Regions from separate parts of the Homo sapiens genome. Here region 2 is linked to region 1. The links are contacts of gene promoters, found by promoter capture Hi-C in human tissues and cell types (Jung and others, 2019). All regions are on one chromosome and are shown on one strand. The core of a region is centred on a gene start or on the middle of the fragment in contact, and the rest is flanking DNA. Distances in the headings are between cores, read along the strand shown.

Region 1 (3,884 bases), core at 1,082-3,581:
CATAGCTAAGTGTCAGCTCCTCAGCTCCCAAAGCTGCTAAAAGGCCAGGCGAGTCGGCCGCCCCCTCCTCCATTTCATCTGGAGCACGCCTGTTTCCAAGAGAGGACCAGCTAGGCCCAGCCCTTCCTTTGACACATTCCTCCAGCTGCTGCCTGTCCTTATGGAAACACATGGGAACTTTTCACCATGTTCAACTTCACGACTTCCTTCGGTGCTTTCACTGGGGAGAACCTGCGTCATGGCACTTGCTTGCACAAGGGAGCCCTTTAAGGGCCTCAGCTGGTCTCCATTGGGTTGACATGAGGACAGCCCCTTGTCTGTACCAAAGTGAGATGTAAGGGACCTACATCACCAGCAGCCAGCAAATGCATCTTTTAAAAGGCCTCTACAGATTTCTGAGAGAGGAATTTGCTTCCACTCCCTCCTCAGGAATCAGCCCCTTCAGTGCGGTAGGGTCATCCCCCCACTCCTTCCTCCTCCATACTTAAGGCTCTGCAGCAAGGGCTCAAACCCTCGCTTTTGGCAACTGTGTGACCTTGAGCAAGTCACTTAACCAGTATCAATCCCAGTTTCCTTATCTCTAATTTGGGGTATATAAATAAGAACAACTCGTTCTTAGAACTGTTGTGAATCGGAGTGAGATAGTGCAAGTAAAGTATTTTACACAGAGCCGGGCATGTAGTAAACCAACAATGAATAGTAGCTTCATTTTCATCATCAATAATGACGATGATGGTGGTGGTGGGAGGGTAAACTTGGACCCGATTCGAGCTAAAAGCAAGCACCCCTTCCCCCTCTCCCCCTCCCAAGTGTATGGCTGAGCCACACGGTGGAGACACATGCGTCATCCGGCTGAGGGGTGAATGCAGGCTCTTCTGGCGGCGGGCTCAGGAACCGCCAGGCAGTGGTGTCCTAGCTCACCTGGAGGGGTCGCGGGGTGAAGCAGATTTTCTGATGGGGGAGGTCCAATAAACTACAGACCCTCTCTTTCTGTATACCCACTCAGCAGGTATGGAAACTGACTCGTGGCCAAAGAACGCCAGCTGCATCCCTCCCCCAAGGAGCCAGGACAGCGTCCACCATGCCCCTGACTCAGTTCCCCAACTCTCTCTCGGGTGCAGGCGAGACTGCGCTGCACTTAGTGGCGGAGATAACAGGTTGGCCAGCCAGGCCTGAGAAACGTCCCCCCGCTACCTTGCGCAAACCCAGCCCCCTCTTCGAAACGCAGGTGGGCAAACAACCCTCAACCTCGCAACAACTTTGTGTATTTCACCGCCACCACAGGGCGCACGGCCTCAACTTCTCTTCACTGCGCTCCGAGGAGGGAAGCAGGAAATCGAGAATAAGGGGCAGCCCACAGACCACCCTCCTTTTCTCGGGGCGCCCCCCAAAGGCGCGCCCTGCCTTACCTTGTCTGACGGCCTTGAAGGTGACGGCCTCCTTGCAGCTGTCGATGACCCCCAGCACGTCATAGCGGGGCAAGCCGGACACCCGGACCCCCTGCACCTCCAGAAGCAGCTCCCCTTCGCCCAGCCTCGGGCCCTCGCCGCCGCCGGGAAGCCCCGCTGCCTCGACCGCCGCCACCGCTCCGACGTACGGAAACTCCCCGTGCTCCGCGCCTCCCAGCACCGTCACCCCCAGCTCGCCCTGGGGTCCCCGCTTCACGGTGCATTCGTGAACCCTGCTAGTCCAGTGGTTCTTCTTCTGGATCACTTTGGACATGATGAGTTACACCCCTCCTCCAAAAAAATAAAACGAGAGACAGGTGCCCCCCACAGCACGAGCCCCCAAGCCTCCGCTTGTTCATGGGAGAAACATCTCTCCCCAAATCACAAAACAGGAGAGAGAAACTTGGCAGCCTCGCTCCCCTGCACACGCTCGCGCACTCAAGCCATCATAAAACAAACTTTCTGGGCTTCCCCGCGAGCCCCGCACAGGCGCCCGCGAGCTTTGTTTGCATTCCGGTGCCTCTGGGTCCACGTTCCGGCGCCCGCCCGTGCTCTCCCGGACCAGAGTCCACTCTGCGCCGCTCGGGTTATTTTTTTTTCCTTCCTTCCTTTCTCTCTTGCCTTTTACAAATGCGGTGCCTCCTCTTTGCCTCCCGCCCGGCTCGCCTCTCCTCGCTGGCAGGCTGTTACTGAGGGTGAGGGAAGCCCTTCCAGCCAGTTGCCGGGAGCCCTGAAGACGCGGTGGCGGGGCGGCGGGGAGCAGGGCGGGAGGTAAGTGCTCGCGGCCCCTTTAAGCAGATACAAAGGCTCGGCTTGTTTTGTTACAGTTCATTCTATTCCGCGCCGCGGAGCGCAGCGGCCGGCGACAGGAGACGCGCGCGCATGCGCCCCGCGGCCGCCAGCCGGCCGGCCCACCCCTCCCCTCCTCCCCGAAGGGAGAGATTCCAACGTGCTTCCCGATGGGTCCTAAAACCGACCTGCCGGGAGAAGGCAACTCCCCCCCAACCCTTCCTGAACCCCTATCCTCTCTCCTTTTCTTTCAGTGCCCTGGACTCCGCGGATTCCTTTGGGGCTGGAGGGCCGCACACGTGTTTTACTCCAACTGTTTGCAACTTTTGAAACCCGGGCAATCTGGCTTTGGCATTTGAAAACCATTTCAAACAGGTGGGGGTTGGGGAGGCTGCCACACTCACCCTGGCGCTCACACTCACGCACACGCGCACGCACTCGCGCCGGCCCTAAGCCTCCTAACCGCCCTCGGCCAGTGGCTGGCCAGGCTGTCGGTCACCCAGCCCGGCTGGTTCGCCGCCCCCCTTGCCGCAGGTCCCACTGAAACCCCCGAGACCCGCCCCGGGGCGCTCGCCGCCTCCCTGCCTGCCCTGCGCTTGCGGGTTCGGGTCCTGGCGCGGGGTCTGCCAGGGTCTCTGCGACCCGGGGGAGGGGGACGGTGGGATCCTCCGGTTCCCCAACTGGGATCCCTGTGCGGGTCACACGCGCTCTTACACACACCCGCATCCTTAAACTTTGGGACCAACTTTTTAGGACACGGGAAACTACAGGCAAGAGAGAGAAGCCATGGTGCTAGTGTGGGTTCAGGTATTCAACCAAAAAAGAGATCCCTCTAGCTTTTCAACTGCCCTGCCAGCAGAGACTGCTGGACCCAGTCAATCATCTGCCCCGGCCTCAAGTTCCTGGCAGGGCCGAGAAGCCTGCGGACCTACTCCGGGGCCAGGAGATAAGGATCCCCGCCGGGCGCGGACATGCCCTGCGTCCTGGCGCCCGCGGGGGCGTGAGAGAACTCGGAATTCGCAGCCCGGGGGTAGCTGCGGCCTCCGGAGGTCGCCCGGGGGTGCGGATGGAGTGACTTCTGTCCCGGCGAGGTGGCGGACAGAAAGACTCCCATACCACAGGAAGGCTGCCCTTCCCAAATACTCCTCAAATCAGGCTGCTGAGTAGTCTCCCCAGCAGTTTGTTTTCCTCTTTAGTGATGTATAATTTTGTTCATCTTTGGTCACAGGAGAGATTCCAAGAAATGAGGGGGGTACGTTGAAACGATGAAGAAAGGATGGACACAGCAGTCGAGGTTGAGAGGTAGGCTCAGGGGTCCACCCTTGTGTGACCTTGAGCAAGCTTGGTGACCTCCGCGCCTCCGTTTCTCGCTGATCAAATAAGTAGAACAAGACCTCACAGGGTTCTTGGAAGTATTACGTGGGAAAACACTTATAAAGTGGCAAATAATAAAAACTCATTATATTCTTAATAGTAGTATTACTATTTGGGAAGAAAATTGGGAAATCATTTGGGGATTCAAGTTAGTAAGTATGATAATTTATCCTCTCCTTTCTAGAACTTAGAAAATATGGGCATACTTTGTGTGTTTGTTTTTTGATGGTGGTGGTGGTGTTTTTAGAAACGTGGTCTTGCTTTGTCCCCAAG
Region 2 (3,968 bases), core at 557-3,056, 210 kb before region 1:
GACTCCTGGTCTTACGATTCAGGCAGGAAACTCATGAGGCCAAAACAAAAAAATTCCACATAGATTTTTGCAAATATTTAAAAAGCACCTACTGGAGAGAATTTACTTGTGTGAATGGAAGTTTTAGATAAAATGCCTCTCTGAAATACATTTGCTTTAAAGAGAAAATAAAAGGTGGCAGTCTTTACTACAGATTTGAAATTTAAAAAGGCAAATCTGAAATGTGTCACCACATATGTGGGCCACAAGGTTACAGCTTGCCAAAGTTGCAATTCACATACTTTACCCATTCCTGGACTTACTGAATGTTGAGTAATAATTGTGGGGGCCTTGCCTTTCATATTGCGCCAATAATCTCGAGAGACCTTACATTACCATTTATCAGGAGGTCTTTAACGTTTTGCTGTCATCATTCAAGAGTGCCTTTTGGTCTCTGATGTTTCCAACCAGCCCTCTTTTTCAGAGCACCTTTCTCTTGACTGCCCAAAGATTAATGTTTAATTGCAGCTGGAAAGGCAACAACTGCACAGCCATCAGCATAAATCACAGTGCAGATCCACTAGGCACCACATTTAACTGGCAGAAATGATGTCTCCCAATCAGTGCCTGCAAATGCAGCTGGTTCTGTGCAGTCTTTGTGCCTTATAATTTGGTTAAGCCCTTTACAAATGATGCCAAGGGAGGGGCTAAGAGAGATTCTTCAAAACAATAAAGACTTCCAGTGTGGTTTTAGCACATGTAATGAAACTGAACACACTGAAAAGAAAACTCCTAGGGATGGAGAATCACAAAAGAATAAAAGGCTTACAGCAATTCCTCATAACCAAACTGCTAGCATGTCTCTGAATACGACATGGTCTTCCATGCCTATCTGCTTGGCAAGTAACTTCTGTTCATTCATCTTTCAAGACTCCTGGATGAAGCTAGATGCTCCCTTCTCTGTGCCACAAAAGCACTCAGCCCAAAGCTTCTCTTCCAACAATTACCATGTGTTTTGGAGCCATTCATTTTTCTGACCATCTCTCTCAGAAGACTTGAGCCTCTTATTTCTATACCTCCACATCCTAGGGCAGCTCCAGGCATACAAGAGATATTTAATGTTTACTGAAATGACTACCCATCAGGCAAAGCATCTGCCTTCAATCTAACCATCATGGTCTCTATCCACTTTGATGAAAATAGCAAACCATTATGGATACTATTTTGTTTTCAAGTCTGGTTATTATTACTCAATGTGGGGGAGCTTGAATCCTACTCACTGCTTTCACCCAGTATATGACTGTATCAAGGAAGCAGATTAAATATGCATTCTTACTACATTTCACTAAAATTCTCACAAGAATTCTACAATGGTGCAATTATATTCCCATTTGTATGGATGAAGTGAATGAATGGAGCTTGGGAAGGTAAATAAATGACTTTTCCAACATCTCCAAACAGGTCAATCAGTAATAGTGGGCTAGGACTGGAATGGAGGTCTACTGAACTTTTTTTTTTTGGGAGACAGAATCTCACTCTGTCACCCAGGCTGGAGTGCACTGATGTGATCTTGGGGTCACTGCAACCTCCGTCTCCCGGCTTCAAGAGATTCTCCTACCTAAACCTCCCGAGTAGCTGGGATCACAGGCGTGCACCACTACGCTCAGCTAATTTTTGTAGTTTTAGTAGAGAGGGGGTTTCACCATATTGGCCAGGCTGGTTTCAAACTCCTGACCTCAAGTGATCCGCCCGCCTCAGCCTCCCAAAGTGCTGGGATTACAGGTTTGAGCCACCACGCCTGGCCTAGGTCTACTGAACTTCTAACACCCATACAATACAATCTCTCCGGCTTCCCCAGTAGCATCAGAGACCAACAGCATAGTTACAACTCCAATTCAAAACAGAAAGACTGAAGATGAACTTTCACTGAATGTGCAAGTATATGTTCAAATATCTATTTACTAGTGTAATCATCGACGACTTACCTATTTGTAAGTCTTTACTATGTCATATAAAATAGAGAATATTCATTTTTAAATTCCAGGCTTTATGAGATTTTTGTTGTGTTATTACAACCAACTTGAAGCAAGTGCCAGCTTTTTTCCACAAGTTAGGTGGCAGGCTTCAGCATGCTTTTGAGCATATTCAACCTACTACAATCTGAGCTCCCAGAAAAGTTTCCTTAATTGAGTAAACAATTACATGAAGCCAAAAGTTGGCTGAAGAGAGAGGGGCTAGATCTCTTAGTTTCATTTGCATGCAGGAAAAAGTTTATGAACTTTCACAAGCTCCCCAGTGGCTTTCTGTAGCAGTGAAAATATCTTTAGATTACTAGTACACATGACTAGCTATGTAACAGAAATCTACAGTCCATTTGCAAATTCTTACTCAGCACCTACTTCCCTAGACACTGGGGATCCTGTGGTGAACACAACACATGTAATTCCCACTTTTCTGCAGCTGAAATTCTTATGCCTAACACCAGCTGATAGATAAACAACAAAGGTAACTTCAGATAATAAGTGCTAAGAAGAAAATAACAGGACGGTATGAAAGTAAGAGGAGGTAGGAACATGAAGATATTAGCTAAAGGAGGTTCTGTAAAGGCTACTTTAGATTGGGTAATTACAGAAGTTTCTGAAATGGCATTGAATTTAAAGCTCAGAATGAATCATCCAGGAGAAAAATCTGAGGGAAGAGCATTCCACACAGAAACCTCAAACAGTGTGAATGAGCTTAACATGTTCAGGAAATAGCTCAGGAAGTCCAAGTAGCTGGAGCTATCTTTCTCTTATTGATTTCTACTTTGATTCCACTATGGTTGGAGAATATACTCTGTATGATTTCAGTTCTTAAATTTCATGCTTTGTGTTACTGCTCACGATATGGTTTTTCTTGGTATACGATCTGTAGGTGCTTGAAAATAATATCTATTCTACTTTTGTTGGGTGGAAGGTCTATAAATGCCAATTAGATTCAGTTAGCTGATGGTGTTGAGTTCTTCCACATTTTTGCTGATTTTTCTCTCTAGTTGTTCTATCAATTATTGAGAGAGGGGTTTTGATGTCTACAACTATAATTGTGGATGTATCTATTTCTTCTTTCATCTCTAGCAGTTTTTGCTTCACATATTTTGCAGGTCTTTTGTTTGTTGCATAGGCATTTAGAATTGCTATGTCGACATGGTGGAATGACCCTTTTATTTATCATTATAAAATGTCCCTCTCTGTCTCTGGTAATTTTACTTGCTATGAAGTCTACTTTATCTGACATTAATACAGCCATTACTGCTTTCTTTTGATTGGTGTTTGCATTACACACCTTTTTCCATCCTTTTACTTTGAACCTGCCTATATTGTTTCATTTGAAGTGAGTTTCTTGAAGACAGCATATAGCTGGGTCATGTTTTAGTCCACGCTGCCAATCTCTTGTCTTTCGACTGATGTTCTTAGAGCATTTGCTTTTAATAAAATTGTTAATGTGTTAGGTCTTAAGGTTTTTATTCTATTTTTTGTTTTCTGTTTCTTCTCTGTTTCTCTTTTCTCCAATTTACTTTTTCTACGTTGTTCTGGGTTGCCTAAACTTTTTTAAAAGCTCTATTTTGGTTTTTCTACAATATTTTTAAGTGCCCCTCTGGTATAATATTTATTTTACTGTCAGGGACTAAGTACTATGTAACTACCTTATTCACATCAAGGAAACAAGAAACTACAGTTATATGATAAGGACGTTAAAAAATTCATTATTTCAGACTTGTCTGGCAGGAAGAGAAAATAGTGTTAAAGGGGCCACTTAATAGCAATGACAAATGTACCAGCAAGTTAACTTGTATCAAGCAAGTAGAGAAAATATTCACTTTCAACCCAAAGCCAATGAATTTCCTAATCCCATGCATTTGCATTTCCTGAGTTTCTGATTCTTGCCACTTTAACAAATAGAACTCATGAGTATGATAAAGGCCATTCGTGATAAGCCAGTGTTTGAAAACA

What was found. Contacts are between HindIII fragments. The study calls those that stand out against the background at their distance.
Region 2: a fragment that was not itself captured here is called in contact with the fragment with the promoter of MAGI1 in region 1 in 1 of the 25 tissues and cell types used here (dorsolateral prefrontal cortex).

The regions. Positions count from the first base shown.
Region 1 is chr3:66,036,587-66,040,470 of GRCh38, forward strand. MAGI1 (membrane associated guanylate kinase, WW and PDZ domain containing 1) reads right to left here and starts at 2,332. Exons shown (of 23, transcript NM_001033057.2): 1 at 1,410-2,332. The coding sequence starts at 1,722. LOC105377128 (a long non-coding RNA gene) reads left to right here and starts at 2,367. Exons shown (of 2, transcript XR_001740440.2): 1 at 2,367-2,612; 2 at 3,466-3,708. RefSeq lists enhancers at 1-519, 520-1,347 and a silencer at 2,300-2,419. The HindIII fragment of the contact is 7,387 bases long and covers 1-3,884 here.
Region 2 is chr3:65,831,636-65,835,603 of GRCh38, forward strand. All of the region lies in intron 1 of MAGI1 (membrane associated guanylate kinase, WW and PDZ domain containing 1), which reads right to left. Among named protein-coding and RNA genes, the nearest start is that of MAGI1-AS1, 60 kb to the right of the region's middle. The HindIII fragment of the contact is 5,818 bases long and covers 1-3,968 here.